2 separate regions of the Homo sapiens genome follow, and region 1 is linked to region 2. The links are contacts of gene promoters, found by promoter capture Hi-C in blood cells and fetal thymus (Javierre and others, 2016). All regions are on one chromosome and are shown on one strand. The core of a region is centred on a gene start or on the middle of the fragment in contact, and the rest is flanking DNA. Distances in the headings are between cores, read along the strand shown. Region 1 overlaps L3MBTL1 (L3MBTL histone methyl-lysine binding protein 1). Region 2 holds the start of TOX2 (TOX high mobility group box family member 2).

Region 1 (3,884 bases), core at 18-2,517, 370 kb after region 2:
TATGATTCCATTTATATGAGTTCCAGAACAGGCAAAGCTCATCTATGACGCTAGAAATTAGAAAAGTGGTTGTCTTTTGGGGTGCGGACTGACTAAAAGGGGCTGAGAAAGAACTTTCTGGTATGAGGGAAATGTCTGTATCTTTTTCTTTTCTTTTTTTTTTTTTTTTTTTGTTAAATTTTTTTTGTATGACTTAACACGAGAGGAAATGTCTGTACCTTGATTGAAATGTTGAGTTCAAGGGCAGACATGTCATAAAACCTGTGAAATTGTACTTTCAAGATGTGTGCCTATCTCTCTATAGGCATTTTATCTCAATTAAAACACTTCTAGGGGAGCAGCACCCCGGTGTGTTCTATGTTGGCCAGAGGCCATCGAAAACAGGGAGTTCAGCTCTGGACACGTACATGAAGAGAAGATCACCAACACAGAGGGCAAGGAAAGCACCTGGAAGTGGGAGGAGTTTGGGAGCTCCACCACACACAGCTCAAAGGAGGAAACTGGCTGTGCTGGGCTTGGATACAGACACTCTTCCAGGGCAAGAAGAGCCAACTACTTTCTTTTTATGTTTTTTGAGACAGAGTTTCGTTCTGTTGCCCAGACCGGAGTGCAGTGGTGCAATCCCGGCTCACTGCAACCTCCTCCTTCCAAGTTCAAGTGATTCTCCTGCCTCAGCCTCCCGAGTAGCTGGGACTACAGGTGCATGCCACCACACCCAGTTAATTTTGTAATTTTAGTAGAGACAGGGTTTCACCATGTTGGCCAGGCTGGTCTTGAACTCCTGACCTCAGGTGATCCACCCACCGTGGCCTCCCGAAGTCCTGAGATTACAGGCGTGAGCCACTGTGCCCGGCCGACAAAGTTCTTTACTTAAGGACAACTATGCACTAAAAGTCAAAACTGGTGTTTATTGTGTTCCCACCATAGCAGTCATTTTGTATAGGTAAAGTGATTGGATCTACATATTCCTCCATAATATTGCTCTATTATATACTAGTGATACACAGCCATATGCTACATAAAGACATTTCTGTCAATGATTCCACATTTAAAACCATGGTCCCATAAGATTATAGTGGAACATATACAGAAACCTGATACATGGCCCTTGATATTGGCATTGCAGATCAAGTAGGGGAAATGACTGACATTCAGTAATAATGCTGTGACATTTGGTATTTCATGTGAAAATATACATGTAAATAAAAATACATATAACATCTAGGTTTGTGTAAGTACATTCTATAATGTTTACACAATGACAGAATTGCCTAGTGACACATTTCTAAGAATGTATCCCCATCGTTAAGCAATGCATGACTGTAATTATACTAGACGTTCTGGTATGATTCATTCATCATTTCCAATGCTCACAATGGCTCTGCAAGGTAGACCTCATTAAACCCATTTTATCTCCATTTTACAGACAAGAAGATGTAGGCTCAGAGACAGTAAACAGCTCAAATTGACAGAACTGGGATTTAAACCCAGACTGTCTCCAAAGCTGACATTCTTTTTTTATCTACAACTCACTACTCCTTGGCTCTTGATTTTAAGTGTGTGTTAGGATCCTTGCAGTAAATCACAATATCTGTGTCATTCAAAATACACTTTAATTATCAACTATATTGGATTAAAGGGGAAAAAAGTACACTTTAATATTGACTATCACTGGCAAAGCTAAGTTTGGCAAGCAAATGAGTGGGTAGAGAGCAGAGGAGTGAATGGACTCCTGTCTCCAGGATGCCTTTTCCTTCCTGAAGATGATCTGAGCACACAAGGTCCCCAAGCTGGGCCACAGTCCAGACTAGAGTCTTCCCAGATACATGGGTCACTCTGACTATTCTTGCCTGGTGGGGCAACACGGGTCCCTCCTTAGCAGAAGTGACGCTGGGGAGGGCACCTGCTTCCTGCCGTCTTAAGGACAGTGACCCCGGCTCTGTCTCCCACTCTGCACTTGCACCTTACCTCGTCTTTGAAGAGGCGTGCTTGGTCCTCACAACCTGTCAGGGTCTGAACAAAGCCGAAGACCTTGGAAACCAAAGATGACATGTTGACCAGGGGACAGAGCTTAGGCATGTAGGGAGAGCTGGCCTCCACAGCCTAGGTGCTTCTGAGCTGTGCCAATGCTGCTTTTTCTCACCAGCCTAAAAGGATCCTAGGGTTTCTATGCTGGCAGATGTGCCAAGTTGGGCCCCTTGCTTCTGAGGCCTGGGACCGAAGCCTGCCTCTCCTGCTGGATTTCTGGCTGAAACAGCAGCACAGCCCCCGCCCCCTCTGCCATAATGGACCTATCAGGAAGGGTCTCAGTCAGCCCCTACTGGGCAGCTAGAAGGGACTGTGCACAGGACAGATGAGCAAGAGGTAGTGCCAGGAGTGGTACCGGGTTCTACCTGACCTGGGCCTTTCCACCAGGGTATGGTGAGAGGGAGGAGGAGAGGAAGAGAAGGATAAAGAAGGGCCCTCGCTCCTCACCTCATCGATGGTCCACTTGGCGACTGTCGAGGCTGAGATGCCCGCTACTCCTGGCAGGAGCTTGCAGTGCTGCTCCCAGCACACTGAGAGTGAGCGGTCAGGGTGGGCCGACAGGGCTGACATGAAGAGGGACTGGTGCACGACATCGGGCGTGAGGGCTGGAAAGCAGAGGCAGAGGCTGGCAGGCCAACGAGGATGACTAAACTGTTCCCGAAGCCCATGCATACCCACACCACTCAGGAGACTGGCTGGCAGAGTAGACAGGACTCCGGGCCCCTTCTGACAGCCTGTAGAGTCAAGAGGGTGAGCCGTATCTCCTGACTCCTCACACAGTGTTCACTCCTGCTGGTAAAGTGACTCTCTTAAAGACTCTCAGGTCAGCTATTCGGAATGACCCTCACCCCGTCTCTCTGAGGCTGCACCACCCTGGGCCCTGCAAGGATACTCTCTTGGAGCTGCTGCAGCATCTCTAAAGACATAATTTTCTAGATGCCAACCATCAAAAGGGTCCTTAACATCCAAACAAGCTCAGCCTTGATGTCAGAAGTCCACTCTGTTTACTCTTCTTCTCATGAGTCCTTCCGGGCCACGACCAACTTTCTCAGAGCCAGGGTGATTCTGCTTCAGAATCACAGTCCCCCTGACCAGGCTGAAGACCACCCCTCTGGCCACTGCCATTGCCTCAAGCTCCAGTTCCTCCCCTTCCTCCACCAGCCCGGTCTGTACTACTGCCTATGCCAGCACTAGAGGGTGATCCCTGACCCACTCCCCAGCTCCATGTTGCCTGTGGCTTTGCTTCCTGGTCTGCCTCTGGGATCACTGGCCCCAACCTCCTACCTCAAGCAGCTGTACTGAGCTGATGACCGATGCTGCTCAGCTTGGCCTCCCCCTTGGTGGGGCCTGGCACGTGCCAACTTGGACTTCATCCCCCTCTGGCTGCTTTGACAAACCTGGCCCCACTCACTGCTGTCAGCCTTGGCCGGCCTTGTGCAATGTGGCCACTTTCCCAAGGGGTTTTCCCAGCCTCTGTCCATGGTCCAGGAGCATTGGCTCTTTATTCTCCTGGTGCTAATTCCAGATGCTCATCAATGCAGCACCTCCAAGTGCCCTCTTGTCAAAGACCCTCCCTGTTGGTCACAGATTGTCCTGCCCTCTCTCCCTGAGTGTCAGCCTTTCAGCCTGGCTTTTCCACCTCCATTCACCCACAAAGCCTCTGGGATTCCATCCTCAGCCCTACCAACCACACTTCTGTGCCACTGCCTTCCTGCTGCTCTCTCTGTTCATCAGCGAAATCCTAATACCTGCCCATACCCCAGACAGCCCCATCTCCCTGCTCAGCCAGCTCCTCTCATGGCCCGTCTGGGGCACACTCAGCATCTCTCATGACAGCTAGCACCACTAGCACCTCA
Region 2 (3,468 bases), core at 115-2,614:
CACTCACCCCGCATCGCCACGGAGCCCACGCGTCTGCGCCAGGGCTGCGGGAAACCCACGCGCGCTGTTCAATCCGGGCTCCGAGTGACGAAAACCCGCGCTTGGCTCCAGCCGGCCCGGGACCGACGCACCGACTGGCGGACGCGCGGACAGTCTGGCTTCCTAACTAAGTTTGAAAGTTCCCTCTCCGGCGACCGAAGGGGACGCGGACTGCTTAGAGGCACCCAACCCATCCAGGCTGGGCCAGACCCGGCAGTGGGACCTGACGCCTCGGGTTCGGGGTTCCAGGCACGCAAGCCTCCATCACTGGGAATGCGCCCGGCGCAGCGCAGCTGGGACCTGGCTGGGGTGGGGGGATAGATCCTGGAAACATGGAGGAGGGAGGGTGTCCGGCACTACAGCCCCAGCCTGGAGGGACGCCGGCTCACCGCTCCCGGGAGGACACAGGCCTCGATTGGCCGCAGCCTACTCGGAATCCGAGGCCCCGCCAGGCAGTGACGGCCAATTAGTAAACTGCCCAATTAGTGTGCTGCGGCGCTGAGAAGTTAAACCTCGACGCGCGAGTGTGGATGACCGAGGTGTGGCCGTCCCTGGGTGTGACCGCGTGTGACTGTGTGGCCGTCAGGACGATCTGTGTCTGAGGCTCACCGTCCAGGGGGGTGGCTGTGTGTGACAGCGTGCGCCTGGGTGAGGCGTTGTGGCTGCGAGAGTGTGACTGTCGGGCGACTTCTTTGTGTGACTGTCCCCCGTTGTGCCTGGGTGTGACAGCGGGTGGGGGCATGTCACGGTGTGTGGGGCATCGGAGCGTCTGTGGGTGACTCGTCTGTGGCGGTGAGGCTGTTTGCGGGTGAGTGGTTGCGTGTCGTTGTGTATAAGTGACTGTCAGGGTGACTTGCGTGGGACGGCGGGACCGTGTAAGCAGTGCCTGGCCGCCTGCGTGTGGCTGTGGGTCACTGTGACGGCTTGTGAATGACTGCGAGGCTGTCAGGGGGACGCGAGTGAGGGGCCACTGTGTCGTCGCACGGGTGGCTGTCGGGATGACTTCTGCCCGCGATCCCAACAACTCAGGGCGTGAGCGTGGCCGCGAGGGGATCGATGTGAGCCGCCCGTGCCCGTCGGCGGGGCTGATGTGCGCGGCCCCGTGTGACCCCGGGAGCGCCTGAGTCCCGAGCTGCCAGGTGACTCCGGCCCCGCCCGCCGGGGACCCCCGCCCGCCCCCGCCTACCTTGCCGCCGTGGTAATAGTCCAGGTGCGCCAGGCCGGCCGGCTCGGCCCCGGGCCGCGCGCCCACCGCGGGCGCCGAGGGGTACAGGCGGACGTCCATGGCGGGCGCGGCGGCGGCGGCGGCGGCTCCCGCGGGCAGTGCCTGGGCGGGCGGCGGGTGGGAGCCAGTGTGCGAGCGGGACTGCGAGCGCGGGGGGCGGGCCGGGGGCGGTGCCCAGAGGAGCGCCCCGCCCCCGCCCCCGCCCCGCCCGCGCGCGCTATTGTTCCGGCCTCGGGCGCTGCCTAGGGCCGGGGGCCCGGGGGCCCGGGCCGGGGCGTGGAGGTCCTTCCTCCGGGCTGGGCCGCCGCCGGGTCCCCCGCCCGGCCCTGCATCCCTGAGGGGGGCGCGCCTGTCCAGACGGCGCTTTTCCGTCCCGCCTTTCGCCACCCACGGTGAGGAGAGAAGCCCGAACGGCACCCCTCCCCAGAAGTGGGACACTCCCTTGCCCTAAATATTTGAGGCGGCGCTAGTCCCCGCCCCGCGGCGTGGGTGCGGGGGGAAGAGGAAGGTGGTGACAGGACCACTTTGGAGATGGGTGCTGCCTTACCTGGGGGGACGCAGGCCAGCGCCGGAGGATGCTCTTAGCATGCCCGCCCCCTCCTCGTCTCACTGATCTGAGTCAGCTTGACAGCCCCCCCTGGAGATTGCCGCGCTTAAACTCTCACTCACATATGGGGAAACTGAGTCAAAAACTTGCAGCATCAGTAATGGAGCTCCAGGCGGGTGGGCTCCGTTGCCCCCAAAGGATCCAGAGCTGAAACCACTTGGAGAAGGCAGCAGGACCCCACCCCTTTTAATGATAGGGAGGGGAGGGCCGCAGGAATGCCTAGAGCCCGAAGCTCTGAAGAGGGGTCTAGGATCTGCCCACAGTCACGGTCTCTTGGAGTGAGGAAAGGAAGAAAATGAGATTGGAATGGGATGGCTCTGATGGTGGGTCAGAAAGGTGACTGTGAAATGGGGTTCCTCCCCAACCAAAAAAAAAAAAAAAACCCTCTAGTTCTTGATATCACTTGCTGGTTGCTAGACTGTTGCACCCCCATCCCCCTTTTCATGCAAGAATTGTCTACACTAGCAATCTCCCCTAGCAATCTCACTGCTCACTGACTGCTCCAGGTATGTCTGACTGGGAGAGGCCAGGAGGCGAAGTCAGCCAGAATGGCATTCTTGTGTGGCACCAGGATATAGGATGCCATTGGGAGAAAAGGACTTGAGCTTCCTGCCCACTCAGGAGCTAGCTTAGAACTTAGTTCTCAACTGCTGCTTGGGCTTTGCTGGTCCTGGCCTAGAACTAGGACCATAAGAAAGATGCATTAACAAAAGATAGGTGTGGGAAACAGGCATTCACTGAAGGCTTGGGAACAACAGAGGGAAATTATAGCTCAGAAAGGAAAGAACTTCCAAATAAATTTCAGCAGTCATTGTTTCTAGAAATACAATGCCACACCTCATCAGAAAAAAATTTCCATTGTCCTGTGTCCATTTTTTTCATCTGGATATCCAACTGACCAGCACTCTTTATTGAAAAGATCACCACCACCACCACCACCCCCCTACACACACACACATACTCTTCTGCAATGCTAACATTGTCGTAAATCAAGTAGTCGATATGTGCATAAGACTGTTCCTGAATTCTCTATTCTGTTCTGTTAGCCTATTTTTCTCTCCCTGTGCCATTATCACAATGTCTGGATTACTGTGGGCTTATAAGTCTAAATGTCCCATGAAATAAGCCTACCCATTTTGTTCTTTTAAGACTGCATTGGCTATTCTTGATGTTTACACTTTCACAGAAATTTTGGAATCAGCATACCTATTTATATATATACACACAAACACACTAACACAATCTTGCTGGGATTTCAATTGGTATCACTTTGAACCTTTAGATCAATTGGAATAAAATTAACATTTTCAATAGTAAAACTTCTTATCCATGAACATGGTATGTCCCTTCATTTATTTTGGGTTTTTAAAAAAGTTATCTCAGCAATGTTTTGTAGTTTTCTACGTGGAGACCTTGCACATCTTTTATTAAATTTAGCCCCGGGTGTTTTTTGTTGCTATTATGAATGGCTTCTTTATTTTATTTTCTGTTTGTTGTCAGTACAGGGTTGTTGTTTTACAACATGTCCACAAATTCTTTGACACCTTTCCCAAGAAGTAGAGTCTAACACTCTTCCCCTCGGGAAGGGATTAGTCTT

The links. The method cuts DNA at HindIII sites, captures the fragments that hold promoters and counts their contacts. A CHiCAGO score of 5 or more calls a contact.
Region 1: a fragment that was not itself captured here is called in contact with the fragment with the promoter of TOX2 in region 2 in 1 of 17 cell types (endothelial precursors); the score reaches 7.6 in endothelial precursors.

Annotation. Positions count from the first base shown.
Region 1 is chr20:43,538,900-43,542,783 of GRCh38, reverse strand. L3MBTL1 (L3MBTL histone methyl-lysine binding protein 1) reads right to left here. Exons shown (of 22, transcript NM_001377303.1): 20 at 2,476-2,633; 21 at 1,969-2,031; 22 at 889-1,850. The coding sequence ends at 1,656. Among named protein-coding and RNA genes, the nearest start is that of SGK2, 18 kb to the left of the region's middle. The HindIII fragment of the contact is 8,375 bases long and covers 1-3,884 here.
Region 2 is chr20:43,912,748-43,916,215 of GRCh38, reverse strand. It overlaps TOX2 (TOX high mobility group box family member 2), which reads right to left and starts at 1,364. Exons shown (of 9, transcript NM_001098797.2): 1 at 1,226-1,364. The coding sequence starts at 1,324. RefSeq lists silencers at 1-53, 1,124-1,213, 1,264-1,373, 1,394-1,493, 1,594-1,713 and enhancers at 192-909, 910-1,627. The HindIII fragment of the contact is 9,025 bases long and covers 1-3,468 here.